Linked DNA regions of Homo sapiens: region 1 is linked to region 2. Evidence: promoter capture Hi-C in 16 types of primary human blood cells and fetal thymus (Javierre and others, 2016). All regions are on one chromosome and are shown on one strand. The core of a region is centred on a gene start or on the middle of the fragment in contact, and the rest is flanking DNA. Distances in the headings are between cores, read along the strand shown. Region 1 holds the start of CAGE1 (cancer antigen 1). Region 2 holds the start of SLC35B3 (solute carrier family 35 member B3).

What was found. The method cuts DNA at HindIII sites, captures the fragments that hold promoters and counts their contacts. A CHiCAGO score of 5 or more calls a contact.
Region 1: a fragment that was not itself captured here is called in contact with the fragment with the promoter of SLC35B3 in region 2 in 1 of 17 cell types (total CD8 T cells); the score reaches 5.5 in total CD8 T cells.

What each region holds. Positions count from the first base shown.
Region 1 is chr6:7,385,752-7,391,058 of GRCh38, forward strand. CAGE1 (cancer antigen 1) reads right to left here and starts at 3,991. Exons shown (of 14, transcript NM_001170692.2): 1 at 3,451-3,991; 2 at 1,228-1,445; 3 at 34-121. The coding sequence starts at 1,422. RIOK1 (RIO kinase 1) reads left to right here and starts at 4,057. Exons shown (of 17, transcript NM_031480.3): 1 at 4,057-4,322. The coding sequence starts at 4,252. RefSeq lists enhancers at 3,670-3,729, 3,740-3,789, 3,920-4,339, 3,943-4,729. The HindIII fragment of the contact is 2,387 bases long and covers 166-2,552 here.
Region 2 is chr6:8,432,605-8,437,803 of GRCh38, forward strand. SLC35B3 (solute carrier family 35 member B3) reads right to left here and starts at 2,941. Exons shown (of 10, transcript NM_001370479.2): 1 at 2,739-2,941. It overlaps LOC100506207 (a long non-coding RNA gene), which reads left to right and starts at 3,019. Exons shown (of 5, transcript NR_038980.1): 1 at 3,019-3,574. RefSeq lists enhancers at 2,569-2,708, 2,681-3,222, 2,719-2,778, 2,979-3,148, 3,089-3,168 and 2 more. The HindIII fragment of the contact is 10,856 bases long and covers 1-3,585 here.

The DNA.
Region 1 (5,307 bases), core at 109-2,608, 1.0 Mb before region 2:
TCTTTTGCATATTGCTAACAAGTAGATACTTACCATTTAACAAATTGTCTAGTGTGCCATAAGCATCTTCACAAAGTGTGGATTCATACTCATTTTCCCTTTCAAAATTCTTTATTTCGTTCTGTATTAATAAAAAAGGCATCAATACTTCAAGCAAACATCACAAGCTTCTTCTAAAGGTATTTGCACATTGTTACATAATTCTGCTATTAGAATATTTCATTACATAGGTAGAATGTGCTTTCTAGTATCTTTCCCCAGCATGTATTTGGCTCCCTTTTAGTAAAACTATGCTAACAGAGTCCCAATATTAAACAACAATGTAACAAATAGCTTGTTATTTTAATATTTTGGTTTTTTGGTAAGTCAAATCATGTGACTATAAACTTAGGGATACGTGATAGCATATTTATGTATTGATAATTATTTGATGTTTATTAAATCTAGTCTAAACAGCATTAAGATGGTTATTTCAGTCTTTTAACACTGAAGATATATAAAACAGGCATATATCTTTGATGTATTTTTATAAATTCCTATTTAGTGGAATCAGATGTCACTGACTATCAAACGTTTAGCACAACACTCATGAAGATATTGGGACATTACAATCTTTTATTTTTTAATAAAGGGAGCTAGGCATTTTCATGAAGACAGGAAAGTTGTCATTTATATGCAGGGTGCTGTCAATGTCATTATGAATGACAACTGAATCATTTGCATACTGATGTAAGTGGAAGATGCATTAGACTAGAAGTCAGGTTCCTTGGGCTCTTGTCCTGCCTCTGACTGAATTGGTCACGTCCCCTGGCTGCACTCCTGGCTAGAAAGGATCAGTTTTAACACTGTGTGTAAAAATGTACCTTGCTCTCTCGCATAGGCTGGAGTGCAGTGGCGCGATCTTGGCTCCCTGTAACCTCTACCTCCCAGGTTCAAGTGATTCTCCTGTCTCAGCCTCCAGAGTAGCTGGGATTACAGGTGCTCGCTTCCATGCCTGGCTAATTTTTATATTTTTAGCAGAGATGGGGTCTCACCATGTTGCCCAGGCTGGTCAAAATGTATCTTACGCTAGCGAAACTGGGAAAACCAGACCCTGTATTCCCCTCCTTTATGTGTCCACCGAATATTGTTTTATTGTTCCTTATAGTTTTGAAGAAATTTTCATATGGAAGACAATGTGAATTCTGAATACATCTGAGCCTCCTGGAACTTATAAGCAATGCACACCTGAGGCAAGTCACAAGTGGTGCCGGTGGTTTCCATACAGATTGGAGAATGTGAAAGCATTACACCTTGAGAAAGATTGCTGACATTCATGGTATCCGATTCTGACATGCTTTCTACTTTTTCATGAGAAGTATCCACTTCAAAATGTACAGGATCTGAAGGTGATGACCAAAATTTTTGATAGTCCTTGTTCATAACTGTTGAACAATAGAAGACTTCTTTAAAAAAAAAATGTGTCTATTAGTAGGTATAAACAAAAAGTTTTTTCCCTATCCCTCTTCTCATTAAGAAAGTAGCAAAGTTCACTGCCCTTATTTGAAATGTCATTTGTCAAGTTATTAGAAAAATTAAAAATTTTAGTCTGAGTATACCGTAATTTGGTATGGTAGTAAATACTGATTTGGAGAAAAACAAACAGTATTGGCTACTATCCAATAACTCCCTAGAAGGCTTTGGACCTAGAAGTGAAGGGATCTCTGTGTTATTTAATCAAGGATATTTACAAAATATTATCAGAGACCTAATAGTTTCCACAAAATCCTGGATTTTTATTTACTTGATACCTTCCACTTGAACACCTCACTACCAAGTCAAACCCAGCATTGTAACTGTTTTCCCTCCTCACTTTCCTATACTGCGCCTATTCCCTCAGGTACATGTGTTTGAAAACTGGACTTGTCTTGGCATCCCTCTACCTCATCATGCATGGCTATTCAGATACCAAGTCCCGTCCATGTCTCCTTTAAAAATGTCTTTCAGGGCCGAGCGCGGTGGCTCACGCCTGTAATCCCAGCACTTTGGGAGGCCGACGCGGGCGGATCACGAGGTCAGGAGATCGAGATCATCCTGGCTAACACGGTGAAACCCCATCTCTACTAAAAATACAAAAAAAAAAAAAAAAAAAAATTAGCTGGGCGCGGTGGCGTGTGCCTGTAGTCCCAGCTACTCTGGAGGCTGAGGGAGGAGAATGGCGTGAACCCCGGAGGCAGAGCTTGCAGTGAGCCGAGATGGCCCACTGCACTCCAGCCTGGGTGACAGAGCAAGACTCCATCTCAAAAAAAAAAAAAAAAAAAAAAAGTCTTTCAGTAACCTGTGCTTTCTTTCCATCCCATGTTGCCACACTGGTCCATATTCTCCTGACTTCCTCAGGCCTGTCCAGAGCTCCAGAGCTGAGAGTGGAAAGGATGGCCACTCACATTGATTCTATAAATTTTTGTCCTTCCAGGCCATCCATAGCCTGGAGTGACATCCCCTACCCGGTACTCCCCTGCTCTACTCAGATCAGGCTCATTTCCCTGCAGACAGATAATGTTCCTTACGAATTAAGCTTCAGTCATCTGCCCTGGCACGTGCTTCTCTCCTAAAACCTTCCCATCTACCCATTCATCTATTTTCAAAATTCCTACAATGTCTTCAGTCTCTAAATCTCTATCTTACAATTCAGCACTTGGTGATTTCGTTTACTGTTTTAGAGCTTCACCACTGTTTCAAGGGTGTTAGTGTTTGTGTTTACAGATCATAAATGTCTTGAGAGGAGCATACTTAGGGCTTTCCAATATCCCCTACTGCAAATGGACCAGTGCTGTCTACACAGCAAATATTGATTGAATAAAACCTGCATTCCAATGACTTATTTCTATCAAGCTCTTTCAATTTATAGTCATTACTCATCTGCCTGGATTCTTTTATTGAATTTCTGAATGAATAGTTTATTGAAAATTAGTTGTTTTCAAACCTATGTCATCACTTGGTAAAATATAAAAAAGTAAGCCAAGCAGACCAGTCAGGATCAGTGAAAGGCCCAACTTTATGCTCACTTCTCCCTTGTCTTTCAAATAATGCTGCCTGGATTGTGGTGAGATCTGAAAAATTCTTGCTTTGTTTTCCCAATGCAAAAAAGCGCAAAGGCCTTGTTTCTTAGTTTTCTTGTTTGTGAACCCAGCACTTCCAATTACATTTCTACAACTTTGTTCATCCCTCATGTGGCACTGCACAATCTGCCAGTTTACCTTTTTAATTTAAAGTTAGACTATTTTTTCCATCTTTCATTTGTCCTTACAGGTTTATGTTGGATTTTTAACATATTTATCAAATGTTTGAATAGATGTTCCAGAGACATTCTAAAGCTGTTTTAAGATAGGAGTTAAAAGAGGTGTCACGGGAGTTACTCGCAAAAACTATAGTTTTGTTTAAAAGCTTTTTCAGTTGTAAGACAAACTTTACCTTTTTAAAAAGCACTTATCTCATTCATTTTTCACCTCAAAACGAGACACCAAACTTTTTAAGACACAAAAGTGTGCTCACTTCCAGGATCCATAGTTTCTTGGACCCACGCTACGGACCTGGCTCTCCCTCCCTCTGCACCGGGTTTTGTGGGAGGGAGAACGCTTTCCAACCTCCTCCACCAAGGACTCTCACAAACTCGCAATCGGGCTCCCGGAGTGCTGGAACGCCCCTGTGTGACGTCCGCCCGCGCCGGGGGAACTCCGCAGAGACAGGTGCAGCCCGCGAGGCCCGAGCGACCCTACTGTGGGTGCGGTGTCTTCCCAGAGAGTGGTGAAGTTAGGAAGGTACGACCCCCTAGGCCGAACAGCCTGTGGGCTAGCTGGCGCCTCCTGCCGCAGTAAACACAAAGTGGGGTACAGAAACGAAAACTCCGGGAAGAAACGGCCAGCACGGGCCTCGCCGTGCCGGCTACTCAACACGCCTTCCTGAGAGCACAGAACATCCACAGCCCTATACAGCGCGCCATCCAGAGAGCTCCGGACTCCCAGCTCGGCGCAGGGGCGGGACTTCCGCTCAAGTCAGACTTCCGGGCGAGGCGGTGAGGGGCTTCCGGTTGGGGTGGCAGGGTGGTGGATCTGTCGGTCCCGTTTTCCCGTCGCACGTGGTGGCCACTGTTGGCTTCTGAATGGTTTGCAAGGCGGATATCCACGCCAAGGCCTTTGGATCGGCCGTGGGTACATCCGTCTGAGCCGTTCCTTTCCATCGCAGAGCGGCGGCCTCCGGCGGCGCTCTCCAGTCATGGACTACCGGCGGCTTCTCATGAGCCGGGTGGTCCCCGGGCAATTCGACGACGCGGACTCCTCTGACAGGTAGGCGGCCGTACAGTGCCCTGGCTCTGGGTACGGCTCTCTCCTTGACCGCCCCCTTGGGGTGTGGACTCTTGTTTGCGGTTTAGAGGGAGACTAGTGGTTCATCACTCAGCGTCTCTCTTGACAACCCTTTGCCTGTTTCTGCATCCCAGCTGGGTTTTTCTCCCAGTTCACGCGGCAGAGTTAAGTGAAAGCTACTTGTCAAGGGAGTCTGCGGTTCTCAGGTCGGTTAGCGTCACTGGGAGGCAGAGTTGGGGATAGCGATTAGGAAACATGGGTTTTTGCGTTTTAACCACATTTAGCGTTCAACAAATACTTACTAAGCACTTAATATGTACCACGTTCTGTCCTGGGCGCCGGAGGTAACAAGAAGAACCAACTTCCTGCTGTCATGGAACTTTACCTTCTACGTGAAAGAGAGGGCACACCATTTAAAAACCAAATAATGATGTAGACTATGCAAATCGTTTGATATACCAAGTGGTGACTGAATGGGTAGGGAAAGGTTAAGTCCAGATTTGAATGACAAGGAGCTAATCCTGGCAAGAGCAGAGGGAACAGCATTTCACACAGAAGGGACAGCAAGAGCAAAGGCCCCGAGGCCAGAGTGCCTAGAGCACAGTGGAGGTAGTTGAGAAGATTGGTAGGGTGATAGAGAAGTAAGAAGGGGGGCCAGATCATGGAGACCTTTACAAGTGATGGTGAAAAGTTCAGATATTAATGTGGGTCTTATGGAAAGCCATAGGAGGGATTTTAGCAGAAGAATGACATTATTTGCTTGGTGATTTAAAGGAATCATTCTTTCTAGGTAGATGATGTTCATGGAGGGTGGGAGTGGAACAGAGAGACCAGTTCAAAAATAATAAGGTAATCAGATTCAAAGATGGTGGGGACTAGAGCCCAGATCCTAAAGATATGTCTTGGAGGTAGAAGTGGCAGCGTTTGGTGGTAGACTGGACGTGGAGTCTGGGGAAAGAGGGATGAA
Region 2 (5,199 bases), core at 1,691-4,190:
AAATCGTTTAACTTTTCTGAGCTTTAGGTTCTGCACCTTCAAAAGTGGGAGGAGTTAAAAATGTGCCTATCACAGGATTTTGGTTAGGACTATATGAAATAAATGTAAAATTGCCTGGCATATGACAGTCCATAAGTGTGTTAGCTGTCATCCTTCAACTTTTTAGAAATATTGCTAGGGTGATATGGTGTGCTCAAGCTGACTCACCCCTTTGATGTGCAGCTGGAAATACAGACCTGAATTTCCAACGCTGCCTTCTCTCCTGAGATCCAGAGCTCTACGTCTAAATGCTTCTTTGATACCTCTACTCATAAGCTCTGCTGGCACTTCATATTTAAAATGGCCAAAGCTGATTATTTTCCCCTCAAAACAAATCTACTGTTTGTTCCTATATTCCCAATCTCACTTAACAGTACCTAGTATGAAACACAAGCTAAAAATCTGGGAGTCATCTTAAGAATCTTTCCTTTTCCTCACATTCTATATTTTGCCAAGATTCCTGTTAACTCTACCTCTATAACTATATCTAATATCTGTTTCGGACCCTACTCCATCAGGCAGCCATTTTCTCTTGCCTAGATTACGAGACTGTTTATAATCAATTCTTCCCTTTCTGACCCATCTGTCACATGGCTCAACGTGAAGTCTGATCATGCTGCATCCATGAATAAGGCCTCGAAGTTAAAAACGAGTTGATGTCCTGGACTCAATCATATTATACATATTTTTCAAATTCCTAAATGATAATGGTATAGCTTTTTCGTTTTTATACTTGTTTCTCCTAAAAGCCTATGAAATCCTTAAGGCAAGAGATATCTTCCTATGATGTTCTGGCACATAACAAAAATGTAAGATTAAATGAAGGACTCTACCACAGTTTAGCAAGCACCATTTATTTAATCAACGTTATTCAGCTCCTTTCCAACACTTTACCACTTCTAATACACTTCTTGGCAACTTTATGTGCTGCAGATCTAGGCCATATGTGCAGAATGAAATCTCTCTAGCACTGTCTTTTCTACATGTATGCCAAAATACCGACATTGCTACTGAAACTCCCCACAAAACATTTGAAATGAACATGAAAATAAATTTGTTTCCTCTGCCTGAGGCATCAGTCTCATAAAACTTGCCCACCAAAGCCTTGCATTTAGAATGCTGTTTTATTAATAAGAACATCACTGGTGAGAAAGTGTGACTGATAAAGACCTCTGATACCTAATAACTGTGATCATTGGGGAATGTCTGCCATATCCCTTCCACTTCAAACATTAATGACTGATACTAACCATCATCTAAAAAAAAAAATGGGCCAAACTCCTTGTGATGCAAGGAGCAAAAATGAAGCATGGAATTAAAATTAGTTTTCAGACTAAATGATCAACATTGTGCTTTGCTTTTGAAGCTCACAGTAATCAGTGAAACTAAAATATATATATATATATTTTAAAAATCACAGGTGTGTATAATTGCCTGAGGCCTCTTCCTAAATTCAACACAGATATTCAACTTCAACTGCTAAAATGGAATAAAAAGGTAGCATTTCCGGCATACAATGTATATTTAAAAATTAAAATTAGTGATAATGTTGAGTTACAATGACCTATTGAAGTCACAATTATTTCAGTTTATTTTTGAGTTTTCCGACCTGAAGGACAAAAGTCCCACACCAAAAAAAGGTAGAATATGAAAAAAAAGTCATTACGGTGTCATTAACCTGAAAAAACGTGATTTTAACTATACTTTGCCACACTCAACGTTACAAATAAAAGAATCTTACCATGCCATTATGCCTTGATTAACTGCGCTCCGGAATCAATCATGGCCTATGGTGTACGATTATAAAACAGAAAAAACAAAGTTCCATCTCATTTCTTTGTACACACATCATTACACAAAGGTGGAGAAACCCTGTGCTAATGTTTGAAGACTATTCTTTTTTTTTTCCAAGAGAAAAAGTTAACACTAGGACTTTATATATTAAGTAATTAAGTAAAAATAACGCTGTCTAAATTATTTTGAAATGCTGCCTCTCTTCCAAGTTCCAAACTATCTCAATTCACTTAGAAAAACGTTTAATCAAAAAACAATTCTAGGCTTCTGATATCCTAATGTAGAAAAAATGCAGATACTCAACACTTAAGATTTTGTTAGCGCACCAAATCATTCCATCTTTTACTTTCAATATTCCTTAAATAATAAAAAGACGGGAGAGATAATTCAGTTGCAAAGACTGGAGGAAACTTGCAGAACTTCTAGTGGAAGTTTATGCCATAAACTTAATAGCCCAGCCAGAACAATCACATTCTACTGCAAGCCAAATGGAGAAAAGAGTACCTTGGAGTGCCCCTATTTAATAAACACGGAACGAGGAAACAGTTAACTGTAAATACAGTCTAGAGGTATCCAGGTGACTGACAGTTCTCCAGAGACCCCGAGAACAGCGTAAAAGACCCCTTGAGGTCACCTCACCCCTGCGAGTCCACGGATTGGGACCTGAGGGAGTTCTCGCCAGCCCGAGGGCGAAAAACGGGCGAGGAGGAACAGATGCTCCTCCCTGGAAACCGCCCGGCCGGTTTCCGCTCTTTCAAAAAAGGGAATCACCCGTTTCTTCCATCCCGACCTCATCCATTCCTCGAACGCTCCTTCTGGATGAGGAAGATGGGCAGTGTCAAGGTTTTCTGGAGGAGAGGAGATCTGGGTCCCAAACACAGGAAAGGCCCCGAAGGCACGCGTACCCCAAGGCCGGTATGTCACCCGGAAGGGTGACGGCAGCCTGCGTGGCGTCTGAGCTAGACGGAGCATCTCCCCCTCCCCTGGTCCGTCGCCATCACCTCCTCTTCCTCCTCCTCCTCGCCCACTCCTGCACTTTCCACCGCGGCGGTCGCCTCCCCGGAAAGCACTCTCAACTCCGGCGCCCGCAGGCCACTTCCGCCTATGTGTCCCTGCGCGCGTGCGCAGACGCGTGGCCCCGCCTCCCGACAGGCCTGTGTGGCCGGTGGCGGGCGGGCCGTTACCTCCCGCGCATGCTCTATGGGGTAGAGACGCTAGGCCGGCACTGCCTAGGTGGGCCGGGCGGTGCGAGGGTCGCCTTTCAGCCTTTACCTCTACCCACTGAAATGGAGTAGGTCGGTGAGCGCCGATCTGCTGGAGAATCTCATTATCCCATCGGCGCTCTGCCTGCTCCTGGCCTCCAAGCCTCTGAAGCCCCTCGGGTTTCAGCTGCCGGCTACCCTCGAGCCCGTGGTGCCCACGAGAGAGGCGACTTTACGTCAGCGGCCCTGGGCTGAGATTTGAGAACGCGACCAAGTGGAGAATGTTGGAGCCAGATTTTAAAATCCTTGTCTTCCTTCTGCGTGCTACTTGATCTAAATGAGATACGGCAAAGTCACAGAACCTGTTTTTATGTTTTTGCCTGATTCATACGGGCTTCTCCGGTGAAGATGGGCCTGAAGTAACGCTTGGGTTGCTTCTGACGTTATAACTCATCCTGTAGCTGCAGCAACCGTGGTCCTTGCAACCTCATAAAAATGTTGCCAGCATTGTTTCGATAGTGCTGCTTAATTCTTGGAAGGTAAATCTCAAAGCTTGAGGACCAGCCATCAAAACTTTTGTAAAAGGTTTTCCCCGCGTTTAGGGCCTCATCCATCACCACTGAGATGTAATAACGTAAAAACCAAGACGGTTTGGGGATGAGCTGTTTTCAGAGAATAATTAAGGAAAATATTACTGTAACGAAGATGGACAATTTTTGAAAGCATGCCTTGAATACCAGAAAGGGATGAATTGGATTAATATGTATGTTAGAATCCAGTCAGTTATGGACAACTTTTAAAATTTTACAGGCACTCTTCAGAAAGGGTAGCATTTGTGTCTTGTATTGGGATCGAGGGTTTGTAAGAAAGCAAGGCACCTACTTTGGTGGTGAGAAAAAAAGGTCTGGGTAGACATTTTCGTTTAATACTTGCCAACGTTGTTAGGCTGGTGTTAGCAACACTTAGGAATGTTGGAATTAAGGCTTAGAGAACTTAAATTTCCTAAAGAGATAGTAAATGACAAAACCTTTCAGTGATGCCATATCGTCACTGTATAATGTGAATTTAGTACTACTGTTAGCCATTTATATGGTGGTTATTTATCAAGTATTTATTAAATGGGCATATGTATAGCTCATATCGTAAACTATGCGTATGAGCTCCCTGTCCTGAAGAAATTAGGGGTTTCCATGAGAAAGTAAATGGCAGTATAAAACAACTTAAGGTACAAGAGGTGTTACAAGGTACCATCTGCTCATGCCTGGACAATTGCAGTAGCCGTGAGCATAGCTTTCTGCATTCCCTTTATTTCTCTACATAGTTGCATTCAGCAGCTGGAGTGATCCCATTAGAACCTGAATATGCCACTCCTCTGTGCAGAACCTTTTAGCGGTTTACCATTTTACTCAGATTAAAGTTCAAAATTCTTACCCTGACTTTTAAGACTGAACTTATTCTTGATGGATCACATCCAAGCTACACTTCAGAGCTTTTCTAATTGCCCCCAAGCACAGCAAGCATCAGTGCTTTGTAGCTGTTGTTCCTTCTGCATGGAACACTGCCCTCTCAGATGTCCACAGAGCTTGCTTCCTCATTTTTTTCCAGTCACTGCTCAAATGTCACCTGGCTCTTCTCTGACTACCATGTCAGTGAAATATTTTTACATGTCAAATGTGAAATGTAGGAGAGACTATCTGGAGTAGTACTTATTATAGAGTAGGTGTTTAATAAATATCGACTCTCTTACAATACTTCCCATTTACTCCTGTGATAACCACGTGGTAAACAAAATTAAAGACTTGCAGCTATGAATTGTTTTTTATTGACTGATTGACTGATTGAGGCAGAGGCTCACTCTGTCGCTCAGGCTGGAGTGCAGTGGCACATCTCAGCTCACTGCAACCTCTGCCTCCTGGGTTCAAGCCATTCTCCTGTCTCAGCCTCCCGAGTAGCTGGGATTATAGGCGCCTGTCACCATGCCCGGCTAATTTTTGTATTTTTAGTAGAGATGGGGTTTCACCTTATTGACCAGGCTGGTCTCGAACTCCTGACCCCAAGTGATCCACCCACCTCAGCCTCCCAAAGTGCTAGGATTATAAGCGTGAGCCACTGCGCCTGGTCCTATGAATTGGTTTTAAATTTTTAAGAAATTAATAATTCTGTA